3 separate regions of the Homo sapiens genome follow, and regions 2 and 3 are each linked to region 1. Evidence: promoter capture Hi-C in 16 types of primary human blood cells and fetal thymus (Javierre and others, 2016). All regions are on one chromosome and are shown on one strand. Each heading gives the region's core, a stretch centred on a gene start or on the middle of the fragment in contact. The rest is flanking DNA. Distances are from core to core; before and after follow the strand shown.

Evidence for each region. Contacts are between HindIII fragments. The CHiCAGO score rates a contact against its expected background, and 5 or more counts as called.
Region 2: the fragment with the promoter of MICOS10-DT here is called in contact with the fragment with the promoter of IFFO2 in region 1 in 3 of 17 cell types (total CD8 T cells, total CD4 T cells and fetal thymus); the score reaches 7.0 in total CD8 T cells.
Region 3: a fragment that was not itself captured here is called in contact with the fragment with the promoter of IFFO2 in region 1 in 1 of 17 cell types (fetal thymus); the score reaches 6.0 in fetal thymus.

What each region holds. Positions count from the first base shown.
Region 1 is chr1:18,954,730-18,959,436 of GRCh38, forward strand. It overlaps IFFO2 (intermediate filament family orphan 2), which reads right to left and starts at 1,947. Exons shown (of 9, transcript NM_001136265.2): 1 at 939-1,947. The coding sequence starts at 1,603. RefSeq lists silencers at 700-889, 1,130-1,389, 1,960-2,129. The HindIII fragment of the contact is 3,069 bases long and covers 244-3,312 here.
Region 2 is chr1:19,594,064-19,598,770 of GRCh38, forward strand. It overlaps MICOS10-DT (MICOS10 divergent transcript), which reads right to left and starts at 2,769. Exons shown (of 2, transcript NR_135054.1): 1 at 2,647-2,769. It overlaps MICOS10-NBL1 (MICOS10-NBL1 readthrough), which reads left to right and starts at 2,916. Exons shown (of 4, transcript NM_001204089.2): 1 at 2,916-3,046. It overlaps MICOS10 (mitochondrial contact site and cristae organizing system subunit 10), which reads left to right and starts at 2,916. Exons shown (of 4, transcript NM_001032363.4): 1 at 2,916-3,046. The coding sequence starts at 2,983. RefSeq lists an enhancer at 2,709-3,008 and a silencer at 3,129-3,338. The HindIII fragment of the contact is 2,967 bases long and covers 2,304-4,707 here.
Region 3 is chr1:19,486,774-19,491,480 of GRCh38, forward strand. It overlaps a transcript of LOC105376819 not described here. Among named protein-coding and RNA genes, the nearest start is that of CAPZB, 3.6 kb to the left of the region's middle. RefSeq lists an enhancer at 602-1,109. The HindIII fragment of the contact is 5,377 bases long and covers 134-4,707 here.

The DNA of each region.
Region 1 (4,707 bases), core at 697-3,196:
GACAGGAAGCAATGACAGTTTCCCAGCTGGGGAATCTGGGCTAGGCAGGAATGCACTGGCCAGTCTTGCAGAGTCTGGACCCCAGTTCTAGCCAGAGATTGTGGTCTCAGTCCATTCAATGTCCAGTCTCCAGCCCAACATTATCTTCTCCTGGGGGCTTTTAAGGCTGAGTTTGTTAGGGCTCAATAAACCATGAGACTCAGGGAGTGGGGAGAAGAGGGATGAAAGGAGGCATTTTATAAAAGCTTGTGAGCAGTCTGTTGTAGTTGTGGTTATCCAACCCAGCAAGCTGGACCTTACAGAGCTGGAGCAAGACGGCAGACACTGGCCCCAGGGGGTAGGGGCAGATCCATCCATTTTCAAAAACGTGATCTCATTTAATTCAAGAAATAAAAAGGCAGTGGGTTGGTTAGAGTTTTTCTTTTCATATGTTGAGGGAGGGGAGCATATTTCCTACTTCCTTGGTAAAAATACTTATGCTAGGAGACAGACTAGCCAGGAGTGGTTAAAATCTCTGGTTGAAATCCCGGTTTCACCACTTACTCGCCAAGCCACCTTAGGCAAATCACTTAGCATTTCTGCACCTCGGTTTCCTCATCTGCGAGATGAGGATAAGACTGCCTTACACAATACGCTGTATTGTGCTGAGAATTAAATGAGATCGCATAAAACACAGACAGTTATTATGTCACCTAGAAAACAATGTGCCTCACCAGTGACAGCATCGAGGTGGCCCCCACGGTAGCCAGCGCCCGCCCCCATCCTGGGATCTAGATAACTGGGCCTTCCTGGCGTACGTAAGACGCTCTGCAAACACAGCTTCCAGCCCACCTGCCAGTACCAGCTGCCCGCCCGGCCCCCGTCCCGCATACGCATTCCGCGGCAGCCTGGACCTGGGCGCCCCGTCCCAGGGCGGCGGGGGAGGGGCGGCCACTCACCTCCGCTTATACTCGTCGCGCTCGCGCTTCACCTTGGCCAGCACGTTGTAGAGCGCGCGGATCTCCGGCGTGATGGTGTCGATCTGCACGCCCACGCCGTCGGGGTGCACCCACGACACGCCGGGGCCCTGCACGGTCTCCACGCCGCCGCCGCCCGTGCGCCGCACCTGCGTGTAGCTCCAGATGGTCCCGGGCAGGCGGCCGTAGTGCTGCGGGTGCGAGCCGCCGCCGGGGGGCAGGCCGCCCAGGGCCACGGCATTGGCGTTGGCGCCGGCCGCCGCGCCACTGCTGAGGCCGTGCCCGCCGCCGGGCGCCGGGGGCCGCAGCAACTCGGGCCCGGTCTGCACGGCCTGCTCGCGGGAGAAGGTCTTGTAGCGCAGCCGCCGCTCGCGCTCGCTCTGCTGCTGCTCCAGCTGCTTCTCCAGCAGCCGGTTGCGCCGCTCCAGCTCGTGCACCTTAGCCAGGAAGCAGCGGAAGCGCACGTTGAGCCCCTTCAAGAGGTGGATGTTGGAGCCCAGGTCGTCCCGCAGCGCCGCCGTCACCGGCGACGGACCCGGCCCTGCCCCGCCGCCGCCGCCGCCCCCGCCAGGGCAGCCCCCGCCGCCGCCGCCCGGCGGGCAGCCGAAGGCCAAGGCCATCTCCCCGAACAGCAGCGAGTTCACCATGCGCCGGCTGCGCGGCTCAGGGCCCCGGGCCCGCGGCTCCAGGTGCGGCTCCAGCTCCGGGCAGGGCTCCCGGCGCGGCCGGGCCAGGGTGGGCGCGGGCTCCAGCGCGGCCGGCCGGGCGGTTCCAGATGCGCGCCAGATGCGGCCTCCGCAGAGACGGCAGGACGGATGGCCCCGGATGCGGGCGCCGAGGCGAGAGAGGGCACTCGGCCGCTCCTCGGGACGCGGTGGAGGCCGCGGTATCTGCGCGGGGCCAGAAGGGTCGCGGGTCTCACCGCCCGGGCTGTCAGAGACGCTGTGGAGGGGCCGCGGCAGCCGCACGCAGAGGACTCTCGGCCGGCACTGCCCCTTCTGCGGCGGGCCCCGCCCACTGCAGACACTGGCCCCGCCCCCGCCGCGGCCCCGCCCACCCCTCCTCCCTCTGCGGCGTTCCCCGAGCCCGAGGCTCCGCCCCACGAGGCCCGCAGCGCCGGGCCCCACCCACAGACCCTCGGCTCCGCCCACCTCCGGGTTCTCCCGCTTTCTCCGCAGCATAGACTCCGCCCAGCTCCCCGGCGGGGCCACGCCCTCTCCTGCGTCTGGTCCTGCCTCCCCGCCGGGTGCCGATTCTCTGCTGGGGGACCCGGACCGCAGAGCTGCACCAGGGACCGGGTTAGCTGGAACCGCCGCAGAGCCAGCCGGGCCTCTTAAAGGGGCCAGCAGCCTCGGCAACGCTCGCTTTCCACTTTTTAGGGCGCTCCTCTCCCACGTCGCCTGCCGAGAGGGCTCCGTTTCTCTGTCCTCTCTGCCCGCAATGCCCCTGGCCCCAAATTCCTTCGGATGTGCGCGACCGCGGCTGGAAGGGCTGGGGGACCACAGTATCCGAAGGTGCATCGGCACCCCACCCCCACTCTAGCCTGGGGAGGCCCAGATCGACCTTTCGGGGATAAGAGGGCGCCCGTGCCCCACGCTGCGGACCCGGGGGTGGGCTCCTCGAATGCTAGCTGCGGGCCTTGTCCTCTCGAGATCGGCCCGGGCACAGCTAAGCCCGCTGGTTCCCCCGCCCACTGAGGAGCCGAGCAGCATGGGGGTTGGGGAGGCCGAGCAAGACCCTCCCGGGATGACACCCACAAACTCGGCCTGGGCCTCGCCTCTGCTGAGCTGCTCAGCACCTCCCCACCACCCACACCCACACGCTGAGATGAAGCTGACCCCGAGAGCTGGGGATTCATTTCACAGACATGGGGCTTAGCGGGCCGCCTGGGGCAGACCGAGGCAACCCGAGGACCCATTCATTCATTCATTCATTCATTCAAATGTTTTCACACCTACCACGTTAAAGGCCAAGTTCTCCAGTCTCTGGTGTCTCCTGAACCGTGTTGCAAACATTAGTATATGTCAGGCGCCATACTTATTTATTATCCCCATTTTACAGAGAAGGTCACTGAGACGTTAAGTAGCCACAATGGTCCAAAGTGCATGCTCTAACCGGCCTTCCACAATGCTGGCCTCGGGCCTCGTGTCCATTTCCGCATTTGGTCCTCACCGCAAACCTCAGAGGGGAGGTGACCCCCACCTTGAACCCCCACCTTTGAACGCCTGTGGCTTGCATTGTATGCACTTAACCAGATATGTGGCATGTTTCAGATACTTCCGACTGCATTTTTTACTAGCAGTTTAATTTTTGTCTTGTTATTAACTTTTGTGTTTGTTTTGTCTCTTTGTATGTAAGCTTGAGGACAGGCACACTGTCTTACATGGACAATGCCTTGGTGTTCTTGGTGACAAAGGAGACACGGGCTTGCCCTGGAGTGATGTGGCTGTGATGTTAGTCTGCTGTGTTTTTGATTTAGCCACAAAAGCAAACCTTCCCCATAGTTCCTTCCCTCAACCACAGTTCCTTGCTTCCTGCCAACACGGACTCACCTTAAACACCCAGCTCTGAAACTCACTCATCTAGAAACCTTTCTCTGCTTAACCCAACCCAGTCTGGACACTGCCCTTTACTCTTCGTTCTCTCGTCTCTTGATGATGTTCTTGTTTATCTAACCTAAGGAATCAAAACCCCTTTGCCTTGAAGCAGAGGTTCATGGACCCCCAAGAGGACTGAGGATAGAATTCTGGGGGGTCCATGACACAGGGGTGGACAAAAGTTATACCTTTAGCCTCACTAATCTCTAAAGGCTTTGTTGTCTGTTTGTTTATTTGTTTGTTTGAAACAGAGTTTCACTCTTGTTGCCCAGGCTAGAGTGCAATGGTGCGATCTTGGCTCATCACAACCTCCACCTCCGGGGTTCAAGAGATTATCCTGCCTCAGCCTCCCAAGTAGCTGGGATTACAGGCATGCGCCACCACACCCGGCTAATTTTTTTGTATTCTTAGTAGAGATGGGGGTTTCTCTATGTTGGTCAGGCTGGTCTTGAACCCCCAACCTCAGGTGATCCGCCCACCTTGACCTCCCGAAGTTCTGGGATTACAGACGTAAGCCACCGTGCCCAGCCAATGGTTTTTAACATATCCTTTGATTATGAATGTAGGCAGCAAGTAGATGTCCCTGTGATTTTGTCACTAGTAGAAATCACAGGTATTTATGTAACACACTACAGTTATTGTAAACATCTCAAGATATCATCTAAGCTACGAGAACTGTGAAATTAAAGTCATATTAGACCGACCACTAAATCTTATTTAATGTATTAGTAAAAGAGAACGTATGTTACTATATGAGAAATTGTTAATAGTTTGATATCTATTTTTAGTAAAATGACTTTTCATAGTAATCCTAATGCCTTTTTAAAAAAATTATTCTCAGAAGGGGTCCACAGGCTCCACCCAATGCCTGAGTGGTCCCATGGAAGAGAAAGGGTTAAGAAGTCACACCTGGGGAGTGGCTCCCTGCAACCTCTTCCAGGAAGGATCTGTCCTTCCAACAAAGTTGCCCTGGAATTGGGGTGTGCAGCCCTCCTTGAGGGTGGGGGCAGCCCTGCCCTGGGCCCTGGAGATATTCAGACTTTCCGTGATGACTTGTGGAGCACCTGCTTCGGCACAAATCCTGCATTAAATGCAGAGGAAGGAGCTAAAGGGGCTCCAGGGGAGCTGATGGAGACAACCAAAAAAGACCATCC
Region 2 (4,707 bases), core at 1,519-4,018, 640 kb after region 1:
TACAGAAATGGCACGGCCTCCATTCTCAATTTGCTCACAGTCAAAATCCAAAAGACACACAAATAATTGTTAAAATTACAAACAATTATTAAAAACACAAATCATCTGATAAGTAGCTGTGATGAGAATTAGAAGGGGCTGGGCATGGTGGTTCAGGCCTATAATCCTAGTACTTTGGGAGGACAAAGTGGGAGGATGGCTTGAGCCCAGGAGTTCGAGACCAGCCTGGGCAGCATAGCAAAACCTCACCTCTATAAAAAAGGAAAAGCAAAGAAAAATTTAAAGAATAGGAAAAATAGGGCTGGGCATGATGGCTCAAGCCTGTAATCCCAGCACTTTGGGAGGCTGAGGTGGGTGGTTCACCTGAGGTCAGGAGTTCAAGACCAGCTTGGCCAACATGGTGAAACCCCATCTCTACTAAAAATACAAAAATTAGCTGGGGGTGGTGGCACGTGCTTGTAATCCCAACTACTCAGGTGGCTGAGACAGGAGAATCTCTTGAACCTGGGAGGCAGAGGTTGCAGTGAGCCAAGATCATGCCACTGCACTCCAGCCTGGGTGACAGAGCAAGACTCTGTCTCAAAAAAAAAAAAAAAAAGAAAGAATAATTTAAAAAAATAGAGAACTAGGAGAAGGGAAGGGTGGTCATAGAAGTTATCTTGAAGGAAGAGGCTGTCGTAGCAAGATCTGATACAACAGAGTTTTGCTGTCATAGTTGCAAATAAATAGTTGAACGATGCCTGTAATCCCAGCACTTTGGGAGGCCAAGGTGGGTGGATCACTTGAGGCCAGGAGTCAAGACCAGCCTGGCCAATATGGCGAAACCCCATCTCTACTAAAAAAATACAAAAAGTTAGCCAGGCGTGGTGGTGGGCGCCTGTAATCCCAGCTATTTTGGAGGCTGAGGCAGAAGAATTGCTCAAACCCAGTAGGCAGAGGTTGCAGTGAGCCGAGATCGTGCCACTGCACTCCAGCCTGGGCAACAGAGCGCGACTCTCTCTCAATAAATAAATAAACAAATAAATAGGTGAATAAATTCAATTCAGTTCAACAAATATTTCATAGAAGACCCTACTATCCAAGGCATTGTGCTCTGACTGGAAGTATGAAGACGAAGGGGCAACTTCTAGTTCTACTAGCAGATAATATCTACAACCAGATGTTTCAGTACTAGATAGAGAAATCAATGCGGGTAGGCAGGGTAGTGGGACAATGAGAAGGGGAAGGCAGCTCTAAGCTCTATCTGACTAGGCTTCCTAGAATCAGTGCAGTGTTGAAGCTTGGATAGATCCAGTGTATGAATGGGAGTCATTGACAGCTTTTTTTTTTTTTCTTTTGTGATAGGGTATCACTCTGATGCCCAGGCTGGAGTGCAGTGGCATGAACATGGCTCAGTGTAGCCTCCACTTCCCAGGCTCAAGTGATCCTCCTACCTCAGCCTCCTAAGTAGCTGGGACTAAAGGCACACATCACATTAGCCTGGCTAATTTTTTAAATTTTTTGTAGAGACAGGAGTCTCACTATGCTGCCTAGGCTGGTCTTGAACTACTGGCCTCAAACAATCCTCCCGCCTCAGCCTCCCAGAGTGTTGGGATTACAGGTGTGAGCCACTGCTCTCGGCCTTCATTGACAGCTTCTAATCAGAGGCATAACGTGGTCAGATTTCTATTTGTTGGTAGGATGGAAGACTAAAATCAATGACACTAGCCAGTAGGCTGGATATACAATCTCTCTTGATAGCTGTGGGCATTTGGTTTCAGGATCTCGCAGTTACCAAAATGCAGGATGCTCAAGTCCCATATATAAAATGGCGTGGTATTTGCATACAACCTACACACATGCTTACATATCCTTTTTTAAAATTACTTATTTTTTTTTAAAGAGATGAAGTCGAACTCCTAGTCTCAAGCAATCCTCCCATCTCAGCCTCCCAAGTAGCTGGGACTACGGTCGCATGCCACTGCGCTGGCTCCCATATACTTTAAATCATCTCTAGGTTACTTATAATACCTAATACAATGTAAATCCTAGGTAAATAGTTGTACTGTATTTTAAATTTTGCATTATTTTTTATTTGATTCAAAAATGTTTCTGGTCCATGGTTGGTTAAATCCATGGATGCAAAACCCACAGATACAGAGGGCACCCTGTGTATGTATGTGTATGTGTGTGTGTGTGTGGGTGGGTGTGTAAATATATACATGGATAGGAGGCCTGAGGTAGACGTTTTACCTGGAGATATAATTTGGCAGTGTTTGCAATTACTCAGGGAGAGTCTGTACAGTGAAAAGAGAATTGATGGAAGCTTGCGAACCAACAGTCCTTAAACAGCTGGCAGAGAAAAGGCAGCCCTGGAGGAAACCAACAGACAACAGCAGATGGGGAGAAGAGGAAAGAGTGGCGTTACCGGGAGTGAAACGAATAGAGGAGCCAGGGAGGATCAGAGGGAGGGAAAATTGTGTGGAATGCGGTACAGAGGTCAGAAAAGAGTCCATTTGATTTGGCGGTAGGTAATCTTTCCCAGAGCAGTTTCGGTGTTAGTGGTTCAGGCGGGAATTCCAATGCAAGAAACCAGTGAACGAATGAGAGAGTGAGTAGGGAAAGTGAAGGTGAGTACGTTAATGAATGAATAAATCAAGTCTGTACCCTCTCTTGCCCGGGGGATTTCCAGGGCCAATGTCGCACTTTGGTGAGGAGGAAAGGCCTGGTCACGGCTTGGGGTGACGCCTAGGAAACTGTCAGCCTCGCAAACCCATAGGCGCAGCCCCAAGGTCAGGGTCACCTCGAGCCTCCAGACAACTCGTCACCTTGACGACCAACTGAAAAAACCGGAAGGGATGGAAGCAGCGGATCATCTCGCGATATCTGGAGCGTCTGCGCCTGCCTTCCTGACCTGGGACTTGTTTCCAGCTCTCGCGAGACTTTCAGGGGTCGGAGCGCGGGGGCCGGCCGAGAGGAAAGCTGGAGGCGCGGGTGGGGAACATGTCTGAGTCGGAGCTCGGCAGGAAGTGGGACCGGTGTCTGGCGGATGCGGTCGTGAAGATAGGTAAGGGGCTTTTCGCCCCAGCAGGCCCGGCCGGTGCAGAGCTGCTGGCTCCAGGCTGCGCTGCCCAGGAGGAAGGAAGGGAAGCCCCACGGGAGGTCAGGCCTCTCGGCCTTTTCCGGCCCCTCCGGCCAGGGCGAGCCGCCCGGGCCCCGGCGGGAGGTCACTCGGGCGGCGGGCACAGACCCGAGGAGCCGGAGCAGCAGCCCGGGTGCGGGGTGGAGTTGCAGCCCGGAGGAGGTGGTCGGGGTTGGCAGGTGGCAGGAGAGTCGCAGAGCTCTTGAGTGGAAGACAGTGTCGGGGCACACCCTCGTGCCGGAGCCGCGGGGTTCTCCTCCCGGGTGGTGCATTCCCCGGCACGCGGCGGGGAACCGGCTCAGGAGGCCACGCTGCTCCCCGGCGGAAACCAAAGTGCCTTCTGGAGAAGGTCACCTGGAGCATTTCATAGACACCGCCAGGCCCTGATGCGAGTTGCTGTCATTCCCGACTTGCCACCTGATTTATTTGAATCAGAGTAGTCTGGGGCCTGAACTTAGAGGGGTGATGATCTGGAATGAGAATTGCGCTGGAAAGTAAGAAGTTGTTCACGTTAAGTTTTTCTGCGTAGTCCTTTAACACGTGCTCAGTGACGGCACAAATTATGAAGTCACTGTATGGTGGGGAGGAGAAAGGAAACTCGTTTATTGAGCGTATATTGTCTTCATTGTGCGAAATAATCTTTTTACAGGCCGTGAAATGGAGAGTCAGGTGAAGGAATTTGCCCACGGTCACAGCTAACAAATGGCAAAATTAGGGATTTTACCCAGCTTTTCTGGGGTCAAGTCCCATGTTCCTTCTTCGATGCTAATTTTTGTTACCCAAATGTGATATTTTTGTGTGGTAATCTTAGGGTATTTAAGAGGATTTAGGATTGTGTCTTTGAATGAAAACATTGAGGAATAAGATTGTAAGCTCCATGAGAGCAGGGATGTTTTCTGGTTTAGTCACTGCCCCATCCCCAGCCCCTAAAAGAGTGCTTAATAAAAATTGTTGAGAGTGAGTCAATAAATGAAACAGTTTATAAGTTACCATTTCACCTCTGAATTCAGCACTTACAGTCAAGTGATTTGGGGCAAGTTATTTAACTTTTCTGTGCCTGATTCCTATTTGGAAATCGGCAGTAATAATTATTACTATCTCATGGAGTCGTTGGGAGGATTAAATGAGTTAGTTTGTTTAAAGGCTTGAATATGGATCACTTAGGAATGGGTTATTTTGGAAGCGACTAAACAGTCACTTTTGTTTTGTTACTGTTAACAGCTTGCAGTTCAGAGAGAAGACTTAACACCTAGCTATGAAATGACCAAAGTAGTTACTAGGCAATGTCATATAGTTAAGAAAGGGCTTTGAGCTGGGCGAAGTGGCTCAGGCCTGTAATCCCAGCACTTTGGGAGGCCGAGGCGGGAGGATCGCCTGAGATCAGGAGTTGGAGACCAGCCTGGGAAACAAAGTGAGACCCTTCCCTTAAAAAAAAAAAAAAGGAGAAGAAGAAGAAGGGGCTTTGGAGGTAGACAGAGCTGAGTTCGAATCATCCACTCTCACTCTTCTCGCCCATCCTTACTAATTTTGTAGCTTTGGGTAAAGTCTCTTTCTCAACTACGAAATGGTGATCAAAAGAGATTTAC
Region 3 (4,707 bases), core at 1,572-4,071, 530 kb after region 1:
ATCTGCCTCCGTGGCCTGTTTGCTTTGGTTAAATCAAATTAGGCGATCTGTGAGGGGATGGTAAACTGCACAGATGACAGGAATTGTTTCCCTGAGCCAGGCCCTGTCCTCAGGGAGCTCATAGACAAGTCGAAGCTTTCACAGGTAGCCACTGGCAGAAAAAGCATACGGGTAAGTCTCGCAAGAATGGTATTGGATGAGTATTACAGAAATTCAAGGAAGAGAATGGCACACGCAGTAGATACTTATTGAGCATCTGCTATGTGCCAAGCACTGTGCTAGGCTCTGGAAATAGAGCAATGAGCAAAATAACCCACATGGTTGTGGAGCTTGAGTGTTGTCAGGGAGACAGTCGGCCACCAGGCAAATACAGTGTCCAAGGCCAGGCACAGTGGCTCACGCCTGTAATCTCAGCACTTTGGGAGGCCGAGGTGGGCAATCGCTTGAAGTCAGGAGTTCCAGATCAGCCTGGCTAACATGGCGAAACCCCGTCTACTAAAAATACACAAAGTTAGCCGAGGCCGGGCGCAGTGGCTCACGCCTGTAATCCTAGCACTTTGGGAGGCCGAGGTGGGCGGATCACGGGGTCAGGAGATCGAGACCATCTTGGCTAACACGGTGAAACTCCGTCTCTACTAAAAATAAAAAAATTAGCTGGGCGGGATGACGGGCGCCTGTAGTCCCAGCTACTCGGGAGGCTGAGGCAGGAGAATGGCGTGAACCCGGGAGGCGGAGCTTGCAGTGAGCCGAGATCGCGCCACTGCACTCCAGCCTGGGCGACAGAGAGAGACTTCGTCTCAAAAATAAAATAGTAATAATAATAATACAGTGTCGGGTAGTGATTAGAGATAATGAGAAAAATTCAAGCAAACAGGTAGGCAGGCAAGGCCTAACTTAGCAATATTTGATCATATAGCTGAAGGGAAGGAGGGAGCAAGCCGTGTGGATAGCAGAGGCACAAGGAGCAGCAAGGGTAAAAACCCTGAAGGTGACAGTGCTGCATCAGCACTGGTGTGTTTTCAAGGGCCAGACAGGAGGCCAGTGTGGCTAGCCTAGGTCGAGCAGGAGCTGAAGGACAGGGCAATGACAAGATTTGACCTAGGCTTTAAAAGGATCATGAGGCTGCTGTGTTCTGAATGGACTGTAGGGGGACTAGGGCCTTAGAAAGCCATTTCTATATTGAGGACATTTATTTATTTAAAAAGCACTGATATGGCACATCCTATGTGATGAACACTGTTAAGCACCTTACAGATAATAAGCCATTTAATCCTCATGACAGAAGCCTGAAAAGGTAAGGAGCTTGCCCAAGGTCACACAGCAGAGAGATGAAGCTGGCTTAGACCAGGGTAGTAGCATTGGAGATGGCAAGAAGTAGATAGTATTCTAGGTATTTCCTGATGTATTGGTGGTAGGCATGAGAAGAAAGGAATCAAGGATGATGCTAAGATTTTTTTTTTCATATTTAAAGACTTTGTCTTCTGTTGTTTTTTGTTTTGAGACAGTGTCTCAGTTCTGTTGCCCAGACTGGAGTGCAGTGGCGCAATCATAGCTCACTGCAGCCTCAACACCCCCGGACTCAAGTGATCCTCCCACCTCAGCCCCTCCCCACCCCCGCCCTGAGTAGCTGGGACTACAGGCGTGCATCACCGTGCCAGGCTAATTTTTTTGTAGAGACTGAGTCGCACTGTATTACCCAGGCTGGTCTCGAACTCCTGGGCTTAAGCAATCCTCCCACCTCAGCCTCCTAAAGTGCTGGGATTACAGGCATGAGCCACTGCACCCGGCCAAGACTTTGTTTTTTAGAGCAGTTTTAGTTTCACAAGAAAATTGAGAGGAAGGTACAGAGACAATCCATATATACCCCCCTGCCCCACATATGCAGAGCCTCCCTGAATTGTCCCCATTCCCCACTAGTGTGGTACATCTGTTGCAAATAACCTGCATTCATACATCGTGATCACCCAATAGTTTACATTAGGGTTCACTTATACAATCTATGGGCTTGGAGAAGTGGATAATTACATCTAGCCACCGTTAGAACCATCATACGGAATATTTTCACTGCCCTAAAAATCCCCCGTGTTCCACCTCTTCATCCCCTTTCCCCCAGCTCCTGGCAACCACTGATCTTTTTACTCCATAGTTTTGCCTGATGCTAAGGTTTTTGGCTTAACACTGGAAGGATTTACCATTTATTGATCTGGGGAAGACTGTAGGAGGAGCAGGGTTTTTCTGAGGAGAGGGTTGTGGATAAGAGGGAGCAAGTTATGTTTGAGATGCCTATTGGAGATTTTTTTGTTTTTGTTTTTGAGATGGAGTCTCACTCTGTCGCCCAGGCTGGAGTGCAGTGGTGCGATCTCGGCTCACTGCAGCCTCCGTCTCCTGGATTCAAGCAATTCTCCCACCTCAGCCTCCCAAGGAGCTGGGACTGCAGGCGTGCGCCACCACGCCTGGCTGATTTTTGAATTTTTAGCAGAGACAGGATTTCACCATGTTGGCCAGGCTGGTCTTGAACTCCTGACCTCAAATGATCTGCCCGCCTTGGCCTCCCAAAGTTCTAGGATTACAGATGTGAGCCACCATGCCTGGCCTCCTACTGGAGATTTTTTATTTTATTTTATTTTTTTTGAGACGGAGTCTGGCTGTGTCGCCCAGGCTGGAGTGCAGTGGCACAATCTCGGCTCACTGCAAGCTCCGCCTCCCGGGTTCACGCCATTCTCCTGCCTCAGCCTCCCGAGTAGCTGGGACTACAGGTGCCCGCCACTACACCTGGCTAATTTTTTTTTGTATTTTTAGTAGAGATGGGGTTTCACCATGTTAGCCAAGATGGTCTTGATCTCCTGACCTCATGATCCGCCCACCTCGGCCTCCCAAAGTGCTGGGATTACAGGCGTGAGCCACCGCGCCAGGCCCCTCCTACTGGAGATTTAAATGGAGATGTCAGGTGGGCGTGGTGGCTCACACCTGTAATTCTAGCACTTTGGGGAGACAAGTGGATCACCTGAGGTCAGGAGTTCAAAACCAGCCTGGCCAACATGGTGAAACCCTGTCTCTACTAAAAATACCAAAATTAGGTGGGCATGGTGGCACATGCCTGTAATCCCAGCTACTCAGGAGGCTGAGCCAGGAGAATCACTTGAACCCAGAGGTGGAGGATGCAGTGAGCAGAGATTGCACCACTGCACTCCAGGCTGGGTAACAGAGTGATACTCCATCTCAAAAAATAAAAATAAAAATAAATAAATGGAGATATCAAATAAGTAATTAGATATGGAAGTTTGGAGTTGGGGGAAGAAGTTAGAGCTGTGATAAACTTATGAGAACTGTCAGCTAGTAAATGGCATGTAAAGATACTTGAAAGCACAGACATCTTGGTGAACTCACTTTGTGGGTGAATGTAGAGAGAAGAGGTCATGAAGATAAAGAGGAACCAGCAGAAAGACTGAGAAGGAATGACCCGCGAGGCAGGAACAGGACCAAGAAAAGGTGGTGTCCTTCTTGGATACCAAGGGATGGAGGCCAAGCCTGAAGGAAAGTTCATTCACTGGACAGGTCACTCCACAGATTGGCTGCCCACTGCTCAGATCCTGCCCCTAGATCCATCAGCTATTGCTATGAGCATGGAGACACATGGCATTAAACATGGTCATCTACAAGGGGTTGTGAATTGGTATGCAGGCACTATAAATTTTGTTTATTTTAAAATTTTTTGGCCAAGCATGGTAGCTCACGCCTGTAATCCCAGCACTTTGGAAGCCTAGGTGGGAGTATTGCTTAAACCCAGGAGTTCGAGACCTCACTGACAAAGTGAGACCCCGTCTCTATAAAAAAGTCAAATAATTAGGCATGGTGGCACATGCCACTGGTCCCAGCTACACAGGAGGCTGAGGCAGGAAGATTCCTTCAGCCCAGGAGATTAAGGCTGCAGTGAGCCATGATTGCACCACTGCATTCCAACCTGCACAACAGAGTGAGACCCTCGTATCCAAATAAATAAATAAATAAATAAATAAATAAATAAATAAATAATAACTTTATAATTTAAATAGGGACGGGATCTCACCATGTTGGTCAGACTGATCTTGAACTCCTGGGCCCAAGTGATTCTCCTGCCTTGGCCTCCCAAAGTGTTGGGATATCAGGTGTGAGCCACAACATCCAGGCCATAAATATCTTTAGCAATGTTTCTCGTCTCATCCTCTTTTAAAGACCCTAACCCCCTTGAAGTTCATACTGTGATATTTTTCCACCTGCCACACCCTTTTTTTTTTTTTTTTAGCTTTCATGAACTTACCTCCATCTCCCCTTCTACACTTTCTTTAGGACTTCAGCATCCATAAGCATAATCCACCAGAAATCTTACTGACTTCTCCCTGATTTCTTCCCTACCAATCAGTTTCCTTTGCCTCTCTCCAGGTCCCACTCCTGTGGTCTTACCCTGGCCTGTTCTCGCCTTTAACTGCACTATCTCAGAAATCACAATCACACTGGCCAGGCATGGTGGCTCATACCTATAATCCTAACACTTTGGGAGGCTAAGCCCAGGATTTTGAGACCAGCATGGGCAACATGGCAAGACCCCATTTCTATAAAGATTTTTTTTTTTAATTAGCCAGGCATGGTGTCATGTACCTGTGGTCCCAGCTACTTGGAAGGCTGAGGTGGGAGAACCTCTTGAGCCCAGGAGGTTGAGGCTGCAGTAAG